Regions from separate parts of the Homo sapiens genome. Here regions 1, 2, 4, 5 and 6 are each linked to region 3. The links are contacts of gene promoters, found by promoter capture Hi-C in blood cells and fetal thymus (Javierre and others, 2016). All regions are on one chromosome and are shown on one strand. The core of a region is centred on a gene start or on the middle of the fragment in contact, and the rest is flanking DNA. Distances in the headings are between cores, read along the strand shown. Region 1 holds the start of MRPL19 (mitochondrial ribosomal protein L19). Region 2 holds the start of NMI (N-myc and STAT interactor). Region 3 holds the start of FAM168B (family with sequence similarity 168 member B). Region 4 holds the start of LOC105373488 (a long non-coding RNA gene). Region 5 overlaps PRPF40A (pre-mRNA processing factor 40A). Region 6 holds the start of REV1 (REV1 DNA directed polymerase).

Region 1 (2,912 bases), core at 200-2,699, about 55 Mb before region 3:
GCTGAAGCCATTCCTTGAGATAGCCAATACTGGGAAGGAAGTCTGGAGCTGAAAAAGATGAACTCAGTATGGATAGGCTGAATTTGAGGTAGCTTTGGGACATTAATGCAACTGGAATGACTATTATGTAGTTAAATTATCACATTACTCTAAGTGTTCAATCCTTATATAACCACTGCTGAAATAACAAATTCCAAATTTCTTTTTTTGTGTGTGTTTCTTTTTCTGTTTTTTTGAGACGGAGTTTCGCTCTTGTTGCAATGGCGCGATCTCGGCTCACTGCAACCTCTGTCTCCCAGGTTCAAGCGATTCTCCTGCCTTAGCCTCCCAAGTAGCTGGGATTACAGGAGCCTGCCACCACACCTGGATCATTTTTTTTATTTTTGGTAGAAACGGGGTTTCACTATGTTGGCCAGGCTAGTCTCAAACTCCTGACCTCAGGCGATCTGCCCGCCTCGGCCTCCCAAAATGCTGGGGTTAAAGGCGTGAGCCACTGCGCCCGGCTGTGTGTTTGTTTCTTAGAGATACGGTCTCACTATATTGCCCAGGCTGGTTTCCAACTCATGAGCTCAAGGGACCCTCCTGTCTCGGCCTCCCACAGTGCTGGGATTACAGGCATGCCTGGCCACGCCCAGTCATTTTCCAAATTTCTTAACAAGACTTACAATTTACCTTTTCCAGCTTTACTTCTCCCACCTATCCATACCCACAGTTGCCCAGCCCAAATTCATTTGGGTTCCTCAAAGGGTTAATGCTTTGTGTAGTCTCAAGGACTATGGGCCAGCAGTTCTGTCAGGAACTATTCTATTCTCTTTTCTGTGCATTCAGCAAAGAATTAGAAAAATTAGCTGGGCGTGATGGTGCGAGACTGTAGTCTTGGCTACTCGGGAGGCTGAGGTGAGAGGATCTCCTGACATCAGGAGTTGGAGGCTGCAGAGCCATGATCGCGCCACTGCACTCCAGCCTGGGTAACAGAGGAAGACCTTGTCTCAACAAAACAAAAGATGTTAGTGAGGGCCCAGGTAGGTGCTAGGTGCTGGGATAACATGGTGAGCAAAAAGAAGACTTTATCCCTTCCCTTGCCTCATTATAGTATAATGGCAGATTTAAATACTAATCTAATAATTACACAAGAAAGAATTGCAAATGAGATCAGAGCTGCCAATCGAAGGCACCCAGTGGGAAAGACGGCCTACAATGGGATTTTCGCATAGCGAAAGCTTGTCTGAGAAGATAGAGTGGATTCATAGGGGGAGGAAAAAGCTTTCTAGGCTGGGAGAACACCCCTGTGGAGGGGTGTAACTTGGCGCATTACGAGGAACTAGAGAAACGTGCACTTTTCCTAAGACATCAGGAAAGGAGCGAGGAGAGACTTATCCATTTTGTCCCATAGCAGCCGCCATATGGTGGCAGACAGCAACAACCTCGTCGCACTGATTACTGGGAGCTGTAGTCTTGACGTGAGCTAGCTGGCATGGCGGCCTGCATTGCAGCGGGGCACTGGGCTGCAATGGGCCTAGGCCGGAGTTTCCAAGCCGCCAGGACTCTGCTCCCCCCGCCGGCCTCTATCGCCTGCAGTAAGTGGAGCCGGACTTGCGAGCTGGGGCGCGTTAGGGGCCCAGGGTCAGGATGGGGGAGGCGAACCTGGAGATCAGAGGCAACCCCAGCGTTGGTCCCCCGTGGGACGCCGGGTTGGGGGAGATTGCGGGGCTCTGCGGGATCTCAGGGTTGGCACGAGAGTTCTGACCTCCGTCGTCCGCTCCCGCAGGGGTCCACGCGGGGCCTGTCCGGCAGCAGAGCACTGGGCCTTCCGAGCCCGGTGCGTTCCAACCGCCGCCGAAACCGGTCATCGTGGACAAGCACCGCCCCGTGGAACCGGAACGCAGGTGAGGCACTGCCCTGGCGCTAGGCCGGCAACTGGGGTCGGTGCGCGCGTGAGCGCGTTCGCGTTCGAGGTCCCGGCTCTAAGGTGGGGGCTGCACCTCCCCCTGCACGAGCAGGTGTGTAGGATTCAAGAGCCAGCGCACCACACTGTTCTTTCTTTCTCACTTCTCCCCAAGCCAGCATTGAACTTCTTTGCAGTTTTATTGAGTCAGAACTTCAAGTAGGGGTTCCCCATATTTTAAACTCTTTTCTCTGTGGTATTTGTCCTGTACCAGAGTTTTTCTCTGAGGTATATCCTGTTTATACCTGTTTACGTCCAAGAGCTCTTCTTTTCTCTCAAAAGACCCTTAACCCTGGATAGGAATCGATTGGCCAACTTAAAAAATTTGCTATGGTTTAGGTTGGAAGTTTTGGCAGACAAAGCACAGTAAAACTGGCCACTAAATTGTGTCTGAAACTTACTCATCAAAATAGTGTGAATAAAAACTTATATGAATGGTGGTAATCTTGGAGGTACATGTAAATTTAAAGGACTTAAGGTCTGAAAAGAGAGCTATGTAGCAACCTTTTTAAAAAGCCAGTTTTCAGAGGAAAAACCTGATATGATTATAGGCTTTTTGAAAGGGCTGTAGATTATTGATTGGATTACTTCTGGGATTTTTAATTTTTTTATTTTTTAAATTTTTTTTAGACAGAGTCTCTCTCAGTCTCCCAGGCTGGAGTGCAGTGGTGATTTTAGCTCACTGCAGCCTCAAATTTCTGGGCTCAAGTGATCCTCCCGCCTCAGGCTCCAGAGTAGCTGGAACTACTGGTACCACGCCTGGCTTTTTTTTTTCTTTTCTTTTTTTAACATTTAAAATATTCCACGGATTTAAATAGAAGTAAACTTGGAGTTAGAGAACTAAGAGATTCAGAAAATATTTCTTCATAAAACTTTGCTTTTGAGGGTAGAAATGGAATATCTCTTTTAAACAGTGGCATTTAATAGAATTCACTTAAATAGGAATGTAAATTATATGCTCTAGAGA
Region 2 (3,186 bases), core at 249-2,748, about 20 Mb after region 3:
TGATTATGTTAGTTTATATTGCAAAGGAGAATTAAGGCTGCAGATTGAATTAAGGTTGCTAATCAGCTTGCTTTTAAATATGGAGAGCATCCTGGATTATCTGTGGGAGCCCAGTGTAATCATGAGGCTACTTAAAAGTGAAAGCGGAAGACAGAAGAAGAGTCAAGAGTGAAATGTGACCCCGGAAGAACTTTCAGAGGCGCAATGTTGCTGGCCCTGAAGATGGAGGAAGGGCTGCTGAGCCAAATAAGGTAGGTGGCCTCCGGAAGATGGAAAGAGGATTCACCCCAAGAGCTTCCAGAAAGGAAGGCAACCCTGCCAACACTTTGATTTTAACCCAGTGAGACCTCAGTAGGACTGCTACAGAATCCTAAGATAGTAAATTGTGTATGTGAGTGTGTGTGTGTGTGTGTGTGTGCGCGCGCGCGCGCGTTCCTATGTGTTTAAGCCACTAAAGCCATGTAATTTGTTATGGCAGCGAATTAAAAAAACTGATACAAATCAACATCACCGTATTTCCGTAATACAATCATATAACTGCGGTGCCAGGCCGTGTAGAATCGAATCTTCCTATATGCATGCGTGGCAGCAAAAAGAAAGGCAATAGAACGTCTGCCTGTTGTACAGACTGGAAACACAGTATTCTCCTTCGGATGTCTCCTTCAAGAAAAACCTTGCCTATTCTGACACGCCAGCCATGACTGCACAACACTGCCCCTACCAAGAATCGTTTTCTTAAGAAATCCGTTTTCCTAAGGACTATCTCCAGAGACACTCGGAGAAAACAGCGAGGGCCGGGCGCGGTGGCTCACGCCTGTAATCCCAGCACTTTGGGAGGCCGAGGCGTGCGGATCACGAGGTCAGGAGATCGTATCCATCCTGGTTAACACGGTGAAACCCCGTCTCTACTAAAAATACAAAAAAAAAAATTAGCCAGGCGTGGTGGCGGGCGCCTGTAGTCCCAGCTACTCTACTCGGGAGGCTGAGGCTGGAGAATGGCGTGAACCCGGGAGGCGGAGCTTGCAGTGAGCCGAGATCGCGCCACTGCACTCCAGCCTGAGCGACAGAGCGAGACTCCGTCTCAAAAAAAAAAAAAAAAAAAAAAAAGAGAGAAAACAGCGAGGAAACACAAATAACTTTATGTTTCAATTTCCTCAATGAAGCAAAGCAAACAAGTGACAAGGCTCGAAGCCCTGACGGCCCAGAGACTGCACAGCGGGCCCAGGAGCAGGTGCGCCCCCTCGAAGGCGGCGTGGCCTCCGCGACTCGGCTGCGGGCAGCTCCCGGGGAGCAGGGTCTCAACTCCGGCGCTGTCCCACTTCCGTCGGCGCTGAGGGCTCCCACCTCCCTTTCCACCCCCGGCTCTCCAGCCCGGGACTGCCAGCGGCGGGAGTGGCAGCCGGGGAAGGGACTCCCCACTCACCCGCGTCCGCCCGCCGAGCGCAGCTCCCCAAGGCCCAGCGCGCCTGCCCTTCCCGGAAAACAGCAGCGCCTGAAACGCCGGAACCCCGGGAGGCACTGGGAGGGGAAGGCCCGGGTTCTCGAAACTGTCGCTGCCTCCTGCAGAAGCGCCGCGGGAGAGCTGCGGGGTCTTCCTGAGGAGGTGGCCCTCGCAGGAACAGCTGGGTTCCCCGCGAAAAGAAAAAGACAGTGAAAAAGAAAACTGCTTTAACGGCGATTTTTCTTTAGCATTTAACCAATGCTCAAATACTAAACATGGTTGTCTCCAATGATTAGTCACTAACAGAAAAAAAAACTAATTTCACTTTCGATTTTTAAAAAGGGGTGGTTTTGCGGAGGAAAGCAGAAGTATACCTGAAGTTTCCGTACACACTAATTTTAGGGAACGCTTTCTAAAACCAGTTTTTTGCATGTATTTTATAAGGTATGTTGGAAAAGTGGATAGAAACCAAATAAAGTCAAAGCAGGAATCGCTCTTCATCAGATTGTAACTCTTTTGTAATTTCTTAGTCATTGTAACACTAGTTGACAAATGTTTACAGTCAGCACAAGATCGGCGTTTCTGTGTCTTTTGTAACATCCCCCGGGGCCATGAAGTTGGGAAAGCTGTGGTGTTCCTGTTGGTTTCTGTGACCCATGTCCCTTGAAAGTTTTCTTATAATCTCTTGTTTTGTTGTGGAGCTTGTAAATAAATACTTCACTAGGTGTGAACTTTTCCTTTGAAAATTCAAACATCTGGTTTATTTCAAGAACTGCAGTGTCTCTTAATCCCACACAAAGAACCACCCCACAGCTGCCCCGGCTCATAAATACAGATGTGGGAAGAAAATGAGTCAAAATTATTTCAAGGCATAAATTATAGGTTATCATGCTACCTAGTCACATATAATAACTGATACAGTGGTCTAAAATAGTTTAACAAAAGTAAAATTTCTTTGTATCAAAAAGGTTGATGGGAACCAGTTTAAAGTGGTGACATTTCTCTTTTTTTTTTTTTTTTTTGAGATGAGTCTTGCTCTGTTGCCCAGTCTCCAACTCCTGAGCTCAAGCAGTCCTTCCACCTCCACTCCCAAGTAGCTGGGATTACAGGAATTCACGACCGCACCCAGATTTTTTGTACTTTTAATTTGGGTGCTGGGGGCAGGTATCTAACTGTTTCCCAGGCTGATCTTGAGCTCTGGCCCAAGTGATCCCACCACCTCAGCCTCCTGTAAAATGGCATTTCTAAGTAAAAAAAACGACTTCTTTGTGCTTATCAGACCAGTTAGAAAATACAAAAACTCCTTCTGCTGCAACTTGAGAAAGAATTACTTTAGTTTTACCTTGAAATTTTAGAGGGAATATGAACTCTCGAGGTTATTTAGTTGAACCTCATTTCTTCTTATTTTTATTTTTTACAAGAAGATACTAAAGGACAGGACCATGGCCAGAACAGGACTAACTTAATATATTGACTCAGATTCTGTTTAAAAGGCAAATGATACAGGTGGAGGGGAAGTCTTTTTGGACACCTACATTCTAAAGCTGAGACATGTACTAACAGTCTGAATTTAACTCAGCTTCAAATCTGGTATTCTGCAAAGTGTTAGAGATCTGAAGATGAAGAGTTGGCTCCTGGACATACTATTAATAATTGTAATTGCTAACATCTACTAAGAACTCCTGGACATTTTATAAACCTTTTTGTTTTGCCAACAACAATATTAGATATAGGTATTATTCCCA
Region 3 (2,745 bases), core at 2-2,501:
ATTTCCCTTTAAACTACGGAACTCCACCAAAGTAAGCCTGCTTTGTAAAGACAAAGAGAAGCAAGATCTTCACAATTTCTGCAACACTAGCTTCAAAATTAGAATAGCCTTACACTGCTCAAATCTTGGCTGTCAAAGCAAAAATAACCCACTCCTTCATCTACAAGAGCTTAAAAATGTGTCCTGTTTTTGCCAAAACCAAAAAGTTTTATTTAATCTAGAATCTTTCATCCATAGTATTTGAGAAAAGTGATCTCAAATTACACAAGGATGACCTGAAAGTTTAAGGAGTGGAAACTATATAAACCTTTTTATTTATAAAGCTTCCTTGCATGCGAAAACACTGCAAAATATTCTTGTTTGACTTTAATGATTAAACATTAACTCAAACAGCCCATGAGATGCACACTTCATGTTCACATACACTATAAAACAGAAATACCCTTATTTGTGGACGTCGTAAAGGCGCACTGCACTCTTTTTTCAAAGTTAACCCAGGCTAGGCCACGAAACGTCCTTTCTGAAGGAAATCTTAAAAATCTGTAATTTAAATCGTGCCTTTTCAAGCTGGAAGGAGAACGCTCAGATTCCGCCAAGCAAAAAAATAAAAATAAAAATTATCTTTACTTCGTGGGTAGACAAAGTGAGCAGTTACACATTGGAAATGACTATTGTCACAAAGCTCTGCCCCCGGGTTTCACGCTCGCATTCCTGACGGCTGTGACCCCGACCTTTAGGAGAACGCCCCGCGCCGCGAAGCCACCTCGGCCACCTAGGCGGCAGGCCCGCGCCGCCCGGACCGCACCTGCACGCGTACGTGTCCGGCCGAGCTCCGCCCCCGGCCCCCGCCCGGCCTTGCCCGCGGCACAAAGCGCAGCCCAGGCCGGTCCAGACGCCCAGCGACCCCGAGCCGCGGGCCGACCTTGGCGCCGCCCCGAGCCGGCCGCACAAAGCGCCGCACTTCCGGCCTGGACGCGCAGTCGCCCGCTGCCCGCCCCCACTCACCGCGCCGCGGCGGCGACCTGGGCCTCAGTGACCAGCGCACGCCGGCCCGCGGCGGGCTTGGCCGTGGGGCGAAACAAGGGGGGCGTGCCGAGGAGACCTGCTACGATAAGAGGCTGACCCTCCGAGCCCCGCGTCTCCGCCGCCTCCCGGACGCCGCGCTCCCGCTCGCTCGGCTCCGCTTGGCCCGGCCCGCCTCTCCGCAGCCCGCGCTCCCCGCCGACGCTGCGCAGCCACCGGAGCCGCCGACCTCACTTCCGCCTGAGCGCGCCGCGACGGGGGCGCGCCGGGCACGTGACTGCGCAGCGTGCTCGCTCCCGCCGGCGCCCTCGAGACGCCCGGATGGACGAGCGCGAGCGCGAGCGCGGAGTGGGCCGGTCCCAGTTGGCGAAAGGGCCGGGTGTAGCTGTAGTTTTTTTATTAACTGTCTGTGAAAAAAGTATTTAATTTATATTTTGAGATAGTCCCGCGCCGCAGAAACCTTTGTGTGTGCCCAGACGCCAGGGCGCGGATCCTCAGGCCGCACCCGGGAGTCGAGCACACCCCGGGTGACCGCCACTACGGGGTCGGAGCGGGGCGGAGCTCAGCTCACAGATTCTTTGCCAGTGCGGAGGCTGCGGGCGCCCGCTCAGGAGTGCAGATTTTAGAGAATGCAAGTCAGCGTTTCAAGTGTAGAAGTGCGGGATCATTTCTATAGACAAGAGTTCAGGGAAGTGTACTAGAATGTTAGGGGGTTTTTTGGTTTTTTTTTGAGACGGAGTTTCGCTCTTGTCACCCAGGCTGGAGTACAATGGCGCGATCTTGGCTCACTGCAACCTCCGCTTCCCGGGTTCAAGCGATTCTCCTGCCTCAGCCTCCTGAGTAATTGAGATTCCAGGCGCCCGCCACCACACCTGGCTAATTTTTGTGTTAGTAGAGACGGGGGTTTCACCATGTTGGTCAGGCTAGTCTCGAACCCGTGACCTCAGGTGATCCACCCACGTTGGCCTCCCAAAGTGCTGGGATTACAAGTGTGAGCCACCGCACCCGGCCAAATGTTAGTATTTTTATGTAAGGCTTAGTGTATAGTTACAATGATTTGGTTAGTTCAGGGTGTCTCTCTGGGGGAGGTATGTTTATTATTTCGTATTAAAGAGGTGCGTGTCTTGGTGTTTGTGTTTGGGGTGTCGTCTGGTCTGAGCTAGGTACAGGACGACAAAGGAGGGAGTTATTGCAATAAAGATTAGTGATGGAAGGGAGGAGGCCTGGCTCTGGTCTTTTTTCAGTCGTTTATGAAATAAAAACAGATGGGCGCGGTGTCTCACGCCTTTAATCCCGGCACTTATAGGAGGCCGAGGCGGGCAGATCACGAGGTCAGGAGTTCAAGACCAGCCTGGCCAACATAGTGAAACCGCGTCTCTACTAAAAATACAAAAATTAGCTGCGCGTGGTGGCGCACATCTGTAACCTTAGCTGCTCTGGAGGCTGAGGCAGGAGAATCTCTTGAACCCGGGAGGCGGAGGTTGCAGTGAGCCGAGATCGGGCCACTGCACTCCAGCCTGGGCGACAGAGGAAGACTCCGTCTCAAAAAAAAAAATAAAAATAAAATATAAATGTGATAAAAGGACAAGAAGAAAACATGGGGAAATTCCTTTTTAGTATTGGAGTAAAGAAGGCTTTTCTACATTATTACTTGAAATCCAGAAGTCATGACTATGAAAAGCTTTGGTCGGCAAAAAGCACCATAAGCAAAGTCAAAAGATA
Region 4 (2,850 bases), core at 310-2,809, about 36 Mb before region 3:
CCAGGACCCAAGCCTTGGAAATTCTGATCCAGTTGCCAGGTGATGGATATTGAAATCTGCATTTTTTTTTTTGAGACAGCATCTCTCTCTCTCTCTCTGTTGCTGAGGCTGGAGTGCAGTGGTGCAATCACAGATCACTGCAGCCTTGAACTCTTGGGCTCAAGCATCCTCCTGCCTCAGCCTCCTAAGTATCTGGGACTACAGGTGCATGCCACCATGCCCAGCTAATTTTAATTTTTTGTAGAGACACGGTCTCCCTATGTTGCCCAGGCTGGTCACAAACTCCTGGCTTTAAGCAGTCTCCCTGCCTCAGCCTCTGAAAACGCTGGGATTCCAGGGGTAAGCCACTGCATCTGGCGAGAAATCTGCATTTTTAAAGAGCTTTTTCAGAAGGTTCATTTATGGTCAGCCAGGTTTGAAAACCACTGACTGAGAAGGTACTGGAAGGTTCTGGCCTCAGCCTCATCATCATTGAGATCAAAGGGTTCCTGGAAGGTCTCAGAGATGGCATGGTCACCATGCTAATTCTAGCCCAAGTGGAGCAGGAATGTGTGTGTCTGGGTGCACACTGCTGAGTCCAGCTCTCACTGGGAACTCAAGGGGACCCTAAACCTGTGGCTTCCATCCTGAGGGCTCTGGGAACTAGCTTTGTGCATTCATAAGCAGTCCAAGCCCCTTATACCCTCCAGTGTTGTTTTCCAAAATGTATACCTGTGCTCATGGTGCCTACGTTAAAAACACCGCTAACCTCAGAGCAGCTTTTTACAAACTTATATCTCCATCGACAGTTACTAGAAGTGTACCTACTATTAACATGCGTATTGGGTAGAGGACCAATGTGCAAATTTAAAATATATGTATATTAAACAGAGCTCTTCAAGCATGGACAGGCTGGGAAGTCCTGGGGAGAGGGCCTCCCTGAAGCCAGTGGCTGCCTCTGAGTTAATGAGCAGCTGGGTGGCTGCTGCCCTGACCGCTGGGCAGGCAGTCACCCCACTCCCACCCCACTCGGGTGACAGCTGGCCCGGGGGCAGTCCAGGACTTGAGTCATCCCAGTCTGTGACAGGGAGGGCAACGTTAGAGAGGAGGGCCTGGGACAGAGTGAGCCTTTTGACCATGGAACTGCCTGGGGTGAGGGTGAGGGCACCGTGGCTGCCATCCTAGTGAAGCCCCACCCCACCCGATACTTCAGGCTGACTCTTAGATTCTTAGAAGAGTTCTCAGCCTGCCCAACATTGAGTGGAAGGGTTTGGGTGTTAATGGCCTCAAAGGCTTCTGTCAGGCCCACAAAGACACCATGAACAAGCCCTCAATACCTGGCCAACCGCATGGCTGACCCCATTGTCCTTCCCTAGGCGTGGGCAGGGGCTATGGAGGGTGATCTGGCCAGCGTCTGATTCATAGGCGCAAATCAAAACGGCCACTGAAGCCCACGTGGCTTCCTGCGGGCAGGAAAGGAGATTTCACTCCTGCGCAGCCCAAGGACACAAGAAGCCCTGGCCATATGGCCATCTGGAGAGGAGAGCACACCGGACACCTGAGGCTGTGTGAGGTGAAGGCCAGCAGTGTCCGAATGCTCTCAGATGCCCCTGTGCTCAACAGCACGATCCCCAGTCCCCAGGCGCCCAGCTGGGAAATTCTGCTTGGTCTGTGGTAAATGCCCTTTCTGAGAAGCAACCATGACCTTCTCAAGAATACTTCAGAGGCACTTTTGCTCCTTCTCCACTAACCGACATCCTGTTTTGCTGGAACACATGGGGCAGAGCGCACACAGCTTTGTTCCTGCACCCGCCCTCAGAGCTTTGCCACCTGTTTTCAGGCTGCCTCTGCCTCCAAACCCTGCGGAGCCCTCCCTGCCCCGTGCTTTGAAGCAGTTTCTTTGGAAGCTGCTGCACAGGGGTTAACAACAAGCAACAACTCAGGTCGCATTCTTGTCAACGGAAGGGAGGGCCAGGTGGAACCGCCAAGGGGGCCATTTCTGGCTTTGCTGGAGGCTGTCAGCTTCTGGTGGGAGCCACAGCCTGAGGGCAGCCAGGATGGCTCTGCTGGGAGGGACACCCTGCCCAACCCTGGGAGCAGGTGACGAAGGCTCCTGGAGGCATGGTCACATCCCTGGGTCCCAGAGGCAGGAACAAAGCCCCCAGGGCAGGTGGGTGAAGGCTGCTGGGGGTCGGAGGGGAAGCCTTGCTGCCCAGGAGCTCAGGCCGGGCTGAAAAGGGCAATGCCACAGAACCCCTGGAAGGAGCAGGACAGCAGACAGTGTTCCAGATGAGACTGCAGAGGGCCGGGGAGCCAAGTACCAAGGGGACGTCAGGAGGGGCCATGAGGCCTCCTCTGAAAGCCACTGTGGCACCAGCATTTGCGAAGGGCCTGAATGACTCCTCTTTTAATGGACAGGCATCCAAGGGCTTCCGGAGAGCCACAGAAAACCTGGCGTGGAGGTTGCTGCTTGCCTTCTAGGAATGATCTTGGATGTGCTGGTGGCAATTCCCCCTCCCTTTGGTGATCCCCCTCACATCTGCCCCAAGCGACTTCTCCAGGGCCAGCCTTAGGAGGCAGAGAGATCCCGCTCTGGACTGCTGTCCCAGGCCCTGAGGGTGCCATGGGTTACATGTGTGTTTACATGAGTCTATGAGTTGAATCCCCATAAGCCTGGGGGAAGCACCATGTCTGAAGCAGCAGCTGCATTTGTAAGATGAAGATCTGAGCCAGTTTTTCATTATATCTGCAGTGTTCATCAAGAAAGGGCCTCCGGGTTTGTGTTTACTGGACATGAATTGAGCTGCTCTCCAGAGATAAGAAAAAAATATTACAGCCCTGCTATGTGGGCACCCCACGGCAGCCCCCGGG
Region 5 (3,026 bases), core at 487-2,986, about 22 Mb after region 3:
TGTCCTATTTATTATCACCTTTAATTTTTAAAGCAATGTTTACAGAGTTTCAAATATGATTTCTGATTTGAGAATTCAAATTATCCATGCTCTCCCAGTCTGTTATAAAGCTAAAACAAGAATTTGTTTTACCAAGATTTGGGACCCATATTTGTTAGTGAAATATTAAGGGGATAAAAGGGAATTATATAATTCTGACAAAAACAGCGGAGATTCTTTTGGGACTTTCAGGGCATAACTCCTACTAAAACATTTATTTATTATACTAACAGGAGCCTTCAGAGGGAGAAGAATTCTAAACATCTAAATAATTAGGTCTACTTAAAGGCACGTGGCATATATTAGCCTAGGAAAAAGTAGAAGAAAACCACACCAAAAAAATCAGTTATTTGAATGGATGTGTACCGAGTAGCAAGTAAACTTACTAGAAAGATGGTCACTGATACAGCTAAAGAGAAAGGGCCATAAAGCAAACTGTGACCAGCTTATGTCAATGAGATACATGAAAGTACTTTTAAAAAATAAAATCTGCATTTTTTTTTTTAACTAGAACTATGACTAGCTGGTATCTTGGTTTTGGTAGTGCAATAGCACCATTACAGCAAGGGTAAGCAGGTCAATCCCTTGCAAAACTTACCTTGATTGGCCCAATGGAAACAGAAGGCCCCAGAAAAGAGAGAAGCATCTGGCAGTAGCAAATTGTTTTATTTTATCTTTCTGTGGAAAGAAACTAATTTTAAATAAGAACCAGAGCATTTAAAGAATAAATATTTTTAAAGCTCATTATCTAGTTAGAGCAGCTCTACCAAGAAAACAAGAAGAGCTCCTTGCTCCTTAGAGATGGAAAGAAACAGAAGAGGAATCAAAGTTGTTTCTCCATCACCTAGAGAGTTTTAAAATTTGTGTTATTCTAGAGTAACAGAATAAAAGGCTCTTTTATTTAAAGAACTCCTGCAAGCAGAATCTTTTGGGGCTGGTGCCTTTGAATAAAGGTTTTGTTTTGTTTTTTAACAAAATTAAGGGCAATATTCCAAATTAAAAAAAAAAAGAGGAAAATCACTGGACATTAAGCCCTTCTACTCTTAAGGTTAAGTAAAAAGAGACAGACACATAGCAAGCTCCTTTTCCCACTGCAATTTCACCAATAACTTTAACCATGAAAGCTTAAACAATTATCAAACAGTACTAATTAGCAAAAGATCACATGAAATTGGCTTCCAAAATATTTTGTTAGCCTAAATTTTTGATGATTTATGGAAATACTCAAATGGAAATAACCCAGCCACCTAAAGATCTATTATAGAACTTAACATGAAGCACAAAATTACTCATGGTAACTGAACCTGTTACCTTTCTTGGATGCTTCTCTAGAAACTCAGTTCTACCGAAATCACTGAATCAGCATTAAAACCTTTTGATCCAAATCACTCCTACAAAATGTCCATTTACAATTTATGCTAGAGATGGAAGGGACAGCTCATAAGCAGGAGTGTAGAAGCAACAAGCATTAAAAAAAAATAGTATAAGTGGAAAATGAACTACCTATTGGCACTGTCCTATGAAGAATCAGAATTATAGAGCACAAACTCCCCACCCTCCCTCACCCTCCTCCAACACACAAAGAGGAAGATATTTCAGGAATAAAATTCGCTCTAAACCAAAACAATAGCTATTTTCAGATTCTATTTATTTACATGGTCTACCAAAATCAGTTATGTTGCTGTATCAGATAATATTTACTTAGACCATCAACTTCAATTGGCATTCTTGAAAAAATAATCATTAAAAATAAAAGCCTGGATCCACACTTTACTTTTAAATAATAAAGAAAAAAATTCTTAGTTTTGAGGTCATCAGTAAATTTCTCAGAAGACTTTTTCATTATTTAAATTTCTCAGAAGACTTTTCCATTATTCAAATTTCCGTTACAGTCATGATTTAACATTTGGCTTATTTGAAATTATTCGGGCATAAACTAATCATTAAACAGCTATAACTACTGACCTAGATTCTGAAATCTTGATAGAATACCTGAGGCAAAAACAAATAAATAAATGCAAAATAAAACAAAAACAGTCTTACTTGTCCCATTGGTGGCCCTCCCATAGGGGGCATCATCTGCGGCATCATTCCATGAGGTACAGGAGGCATATTCGCTCTCTGACCCATAGGGTGCATTCCCATTGGGGCATAATGCATGCCAGGGTGCCCCATCTGAAAAACAGTGAACATTTTTAAATGAGCAAATAATACTAAATGCTTCTCAAAAATCTCATTTCAACAGATCAGTTATCTGAAGCGACATAATATTAAGCTTATGTGTAATAACATCATTGGATTAGTCTATACCTTGTTTCAAACAAAACGCATTCTGCTAGTATTTAAAACGAGCTTGCAAATTCCGTAAAAAAATGGGAAAAGTTAAGATGAATCCTGGACCGCTGGATCATAGGTTTTCTCTCTCTTTTTTTTAAGCACTGACTTAACCAGCTACTAATTGGCTTGCTAAGCTTGGAGGATACACATTGAATACTAATTTTAAAACTGTTATGGTGAAAACAACAACTCTCCTATTTCATGCAGATATAAAAGATAGCCAGCTATTGTTATTTTATAACACTACTGATTTTAAACTTTAAAATGCTCTATCCAATTAACTCAGGTGAGAGTCGGTCTTACAAAACACAAACAGTATGGCTACCCAGGCACAATTCACTCCTAACAAACTTATTTCCTAACATAACCTTTAAGACAGGTAAAATTCCTTCTGCCAAAAATACATTTTCAAAGACTGAGGTTCTGTCACTCACGGACACTAAATGCAAACAACTAATTCATCCTTTTTAACGCAGTTTAAAAAGACAACTACTTTCTTTACCGATGAGTCCATTGTTCTATGTTTTAAATTAAAACCACCTAATTATCTCCTGCCAATTGTCCCAACAGTTCCCCCTGCAGACCACCCCGACGACTAATGAAAACAAATTTTGGCAGCCGCTGTTAAAGTCTTACAGTATCAAGCCCCT
Region 6 (3,042 bases), core at 192-2,691, about 32 Mb before region 3:
TCCTGGAAGAGGAACTTTAGGTGAGCTCTTAAGTGTCCAGTACAGGAAGGCAGGGAACAATACGCAGCACTGGTCCCTGCACGGGCAAACCCAAGAATATGTGTGAAAGGTTGGTGGACAGATAGATGGTTCCCACAGGCTGATTTGCTACATACAGAACTCCATAGAAAGAACCAAGGTTATGGTTGGTCCTACCCTACCTAAACAGGAAATGGCTTATTCTCGGAGACTAAAGTGCCAAGTCCGGAAAGACCAGACAGATACACAGAATTACAGACTGTTACATAAAGTCCTTAATAGTTACAAGCCCTTGTTGTGCTATGTGCTAGTCTGCATTATTTTCACCTAAATGAAACCATTTCTACTTAGTACATGGCGTGAGAAGACGTGGAGATAAAGAGAATTAGCAGACGTATATTATCTGCAATTTATCTTACGGAGGAGTACATTAAGGAGTGTTATGTGAGATTATTTCTTTACAAACTGAGAATAGGTAGGAAGAGCAGCGAAACACAGCGCGGCTCGGTGCGCCCAGAGCGGCGTCACTGTAACAGTACAGAAGTGGGCAAGGGGCTCTCGGAAGGACAGTTGGGGAACGGCGCCCAGCGTATTTAGCGAACGGACAAGCAGCAAGGAAAAACAAGGGAGCAACAACCGCCTTCGGACATTCCGACCGGTTCTGGGATGCACCGGGGACGTCGAAGGCGGGGTGCGGAAAAACGCTGTGGCTGGAGTGCGGGTGGGAGCGGCGGCTCGACCGGGTCGACATTCTACAAACGCTTGTGGAACGAACGCCCGAACGCGCGCGTGAATGAATGGCGCGGAACTGAATGGCCGGCCGAGGCGCCGGCGCAGGAGGAAGGAGTTTGCGGCGCGGTCTGACCGGGCCGGCGGGATGCGGCCGGGCGCGGAGGGAAGGGCCGCTGCGCCAGGGGTCGGCGCGGGGCGGCCCATGGGGCTGGCGGCGGCGCGGGGCCGGCCGCGCCATGACGGAAGGGAAGGGGAGGGGAGGTCACACATTACATAACCCGGCGGCTGCGAGCGTCAGGGGAAGGCGCCGTGGACAGCCCAGGCCGCGACAGGACGGCCGCGGGCCGGGGCCGGGGCGACGCACCCCTCCCCCGCGCCACCTCAGGCCGACCGCGCTCTGGCCGCTGCCGGGCGGGTCTGCGGCGCCTCCGGGCGACGCGTGTCCGATCCCGCCCCTCCCCCACCCCGCCGCCGGCCCGGGGGTCGCTCACCTTCCGCGTTGCCCCAGACCACCATGCCCGGGCCCGGCGGCCTTCTCCGGCCTTGCGGACCCCGGCCCCGCCGCCGCCAGTGCCCTCGCCAGGGACCAGGGAGGAGGGCCGGGGGAAGGCAGCCCCACCGCTGAGCAGCGCCGCGGTCCACGCTCCCCCACGCTCGCGGCAACCAACCCCGCGCGCGCTCCGCGGTGGCTCTCCGCCCCTCCCCCTCCGGTTAGCGCGCGCGCCGCAGCCACGCCCCCTAGCGTTCCGCGCGCGCTCCCCGGCCCCGCTCGCGCTCACAGCCGCGCGGCGCACGCGCTCTGCTCCCCCCGGCCCGGGGCGACCCCAGCCTCGGGCGTAGCACCGCGGCGCCCGGCGTCGGCCTCCGTGTTCCTCCCCTCCCCGGCCCCGCCCTGTTGTTCTGCAGCCGCCCGCAAGGGGCAGCGCCTGGGCGGCACGTGACCGTCTCGCTAGCTGGGCGGAGGGGAGCGCAGCGCGGGCCCGCCCACGCACTGCGCCGCCTGCCCGCCCGTCCTGCTCCGGTCACCCCCGCGCTTCGTTGACCGGGTCGCGGCTCTTCGGTTGCCATTCGGACAGCGCGCCGCTCCGTGCACAGCGAGTCCCCGCGCCTGCCCCGCCTTGGGGCTCCCCAGTGGGGAAGGACACAAGTGCAGACACTGACCGGGCTTCAAACCCCGGTACTGTGTGAAGATGCGCCAGACGCCCGGGTTCCCTCCTTAAGCAATTGATTTACAGTGACATCTAGTGGAGAAAGGGACACACATGAACTGACATTTTCCTATGTCCAGAGCAACCGAGAACCACGGCCCACTCAGGTTCGCGGGAAGGAGCACTGCGCCACGGCGTTTTCGGGATTCGTGGCCTGCTCCCGCAGGGCACAGACACTATCTTCTGTCCTTTGAGTGCCCGGGCAGCATTGCGCCTGAGTATTTGTAAACGGAGGGCCGGTATCCCATCCCATGTACAGCGCTGGAGTTACCCGAGAAAGCAGTTTTCTATGAATATAAAAATAATATCCTATATTATGTATGCGTAAGTACAATTCTAATTGAGGGCCTTCTAGCAGAAAACAATCCGTCCATAAGGACCACTTTCTCCCTCTTGGCAGGGTCGCTTTGAAGACTCCACATTGTTACATAATAGTCTTTATTGTTGTAATGCACAAACATGAAGATACTTTTTTCCCACTCATTCCCTTGCCTAAAATGCTTCAGAGTTTGCAGGTACTTAGGAAACAATCAGTATTCTTTTGAAAACTGATTTGCAGAGTTGGAACTTGTTTACTAGCAACACAGAGAATACTCAAATAGCTCATTTCTTTCCCTTTCAGTTTTTTGCCATTTTATAGACTTCTATAAATGCACTTCAACTTCAGTATTCTCGTCGCTAATCCAACGAATTTAGATTGCATACTTTTCAAAGACGTCATAATTTAAAACAAATTGCGTAATTGCTTTCTTTTCTTTTCTTTTCTTTTGAGACGAAGTTTTGCTCTTTTGCCCAGGCTGGAGTGCAATGGCGCGATCTCGGCTCACTGCAACCTCCGCCTCCCAGGTTCAAGTGATTCTCCCACCTCAGCCTCCCGAGTAGCTGGGATTACAGGCATGCGCCACCATGCCCGGCTAATTTTTGTATTTTTAGTAGAGAGGGGGTTTCACCATGTTGGCCAGGCTGGTCTGGAAGTCCTGACCTCAGGTAATCCACCAGCCTTGGCATCCTAAAGTGCTAGGATTATAGGCGTGAGCCACCGTGCCTGCCCATAATTTTAACAGACTCACGACCAGTTGCCGAC

What was found. Contacts are between HindIII fragments. The CHiCAGO score rates a contact against its expected background, and 5 or more counts as called.
Region 1: a contact is called between the fragment with the promoter of MRPL19 here and the fragment with the promoter of FAM168B in region 3, in 6 of 17 cell types (total CD8 T cells, non-activated CD4 T cells, naive CD4 T cells and 3 more). The highest score is 20.4, in total CD8 T cells.
Region 2: a contact is called between the fragment with the promoter of NMI here and the fragment with the promoter of FAM168B in region 3, in 1 of 17 cell types (fetal thymus). The highest score is 5.1, in fetal thymus.
Region 4: a contact is called between a fragment that was not itself captured here and the fragment with the promoter of FAM168B in region 3, in 1 of 17 cell types (total CD4 T cells). The highest score is 5.3, in total CD4 T cells.
Region 5: a contact is called between a fragment that was not itself captured here and the fragment with the promoter of FAM168B in region 3, in 3 of 17 cell types (total B cells, total CD4 T cells and non-activated CD4 T cells). The highest score is 5.4, in total B cells.
Region 6: the fragment with the promoter of REV1 here is called in contact with the fragment with the promoter of FAM168B in region 3 in 2 of 17 cell types (monocytes and neutrophils); the score reaches 7.4 in monocytes.

The regions. Positions count from the first base shown.
Region 1 is chr2:75,645,334-75,648,245 of GRCh38, forward strand. MRPL19 (mitochondrial ribosomal protein L19) reads left to right here and starts at 1,450. Exons shown (of 6, transcript NM_014763.4): 1 at 1,450-1,577; 2 at 1,769-1,886. The coding sequence starts at 1,475. RefSeq lists enhancers at 1,250-1,544, 1,380-1,679. The HindIII fragment of the contact is 2,636 bases long and covers 1,262-2,912 here.
Region 2 is chr2:151,288,170-151,291,355 of GRCh38, forward strand. It overlaps NMI (N-myc and STAT interactor), which reads right to left and starts at 1,499. Exons shown (of 8, transcript NM_004688.3): 1 at 1,424-1,499. RefSeq lists enhancers at 48-217, 1,018-1,067, 1,088-1,137, 1,528-1,607, 1,668-2,087 and a silencer at 1,268-1,467. The HindIII fragment of the contact is 4,870 bases long and covers 1-3,186 here.
Region 3 is chr2:131,092,209-131,094,953 of GRCh38, forward strand. FAM168B (family with sequence similarity 168 member B) reads right to left here and starts at 1,252. Exons shown (of 7, transcript NM_001009993.4): 1 at 1,006-1,252. RefSeq lists a silencer at 706-1,425. The HindIII fragment of the contact is 2,381 bases long and covers 322-2,702 here.
Region 4 is chr2:95,073,013-95,075,862 of GRCh38, forward strand. All of the region lies in intron 1 of LOC124907857 (a long non-coding RNA gene), which reads right to left. LOC105373488 (a long non-coding RNA gene) reads left to right here and starts at 1,878. Exons shown (of 3, transcript XR_923076.3): 1 at 1,878-2,149; 2 at 2,732-2,850. The HindIII fragment of the contact is 3,474 bases long and covers 1-2,850 here.
Region 5 is chr2:152,713,913-152,716,938 of GRCh38, forward strand. PRPF40A (pre-mRNA processing factor 40A) reads right to left here. Exons shown (of 26, transcript NM_001365597.4): 2 at 2,083-2,214. Among named protein-coding and RNA genes, the nearest start is that of PRPF40A, 2.0 kb to the right of the region's middle. The HindIII fragment of the contact is 1,151 bases long and covers 1,162-2,312 here.
Region 6 is chr2:99,488,576-99,491,617 of GRCh38, forward strand. It overlaps REV1 (REV1 DNA directed polymerase), which reads right to left and starts at 1,442. Exons shown (of 23, transcript NM_016316.4): 1 at 1,242-1,442. RefSeq lists silencers at 917-996, 1,067-1,166, 1,277-1,946 and an enhancer at 1,380-2,265. The HindIII fragment of the contact is 11,070 bases long and covers 1-3,042 here.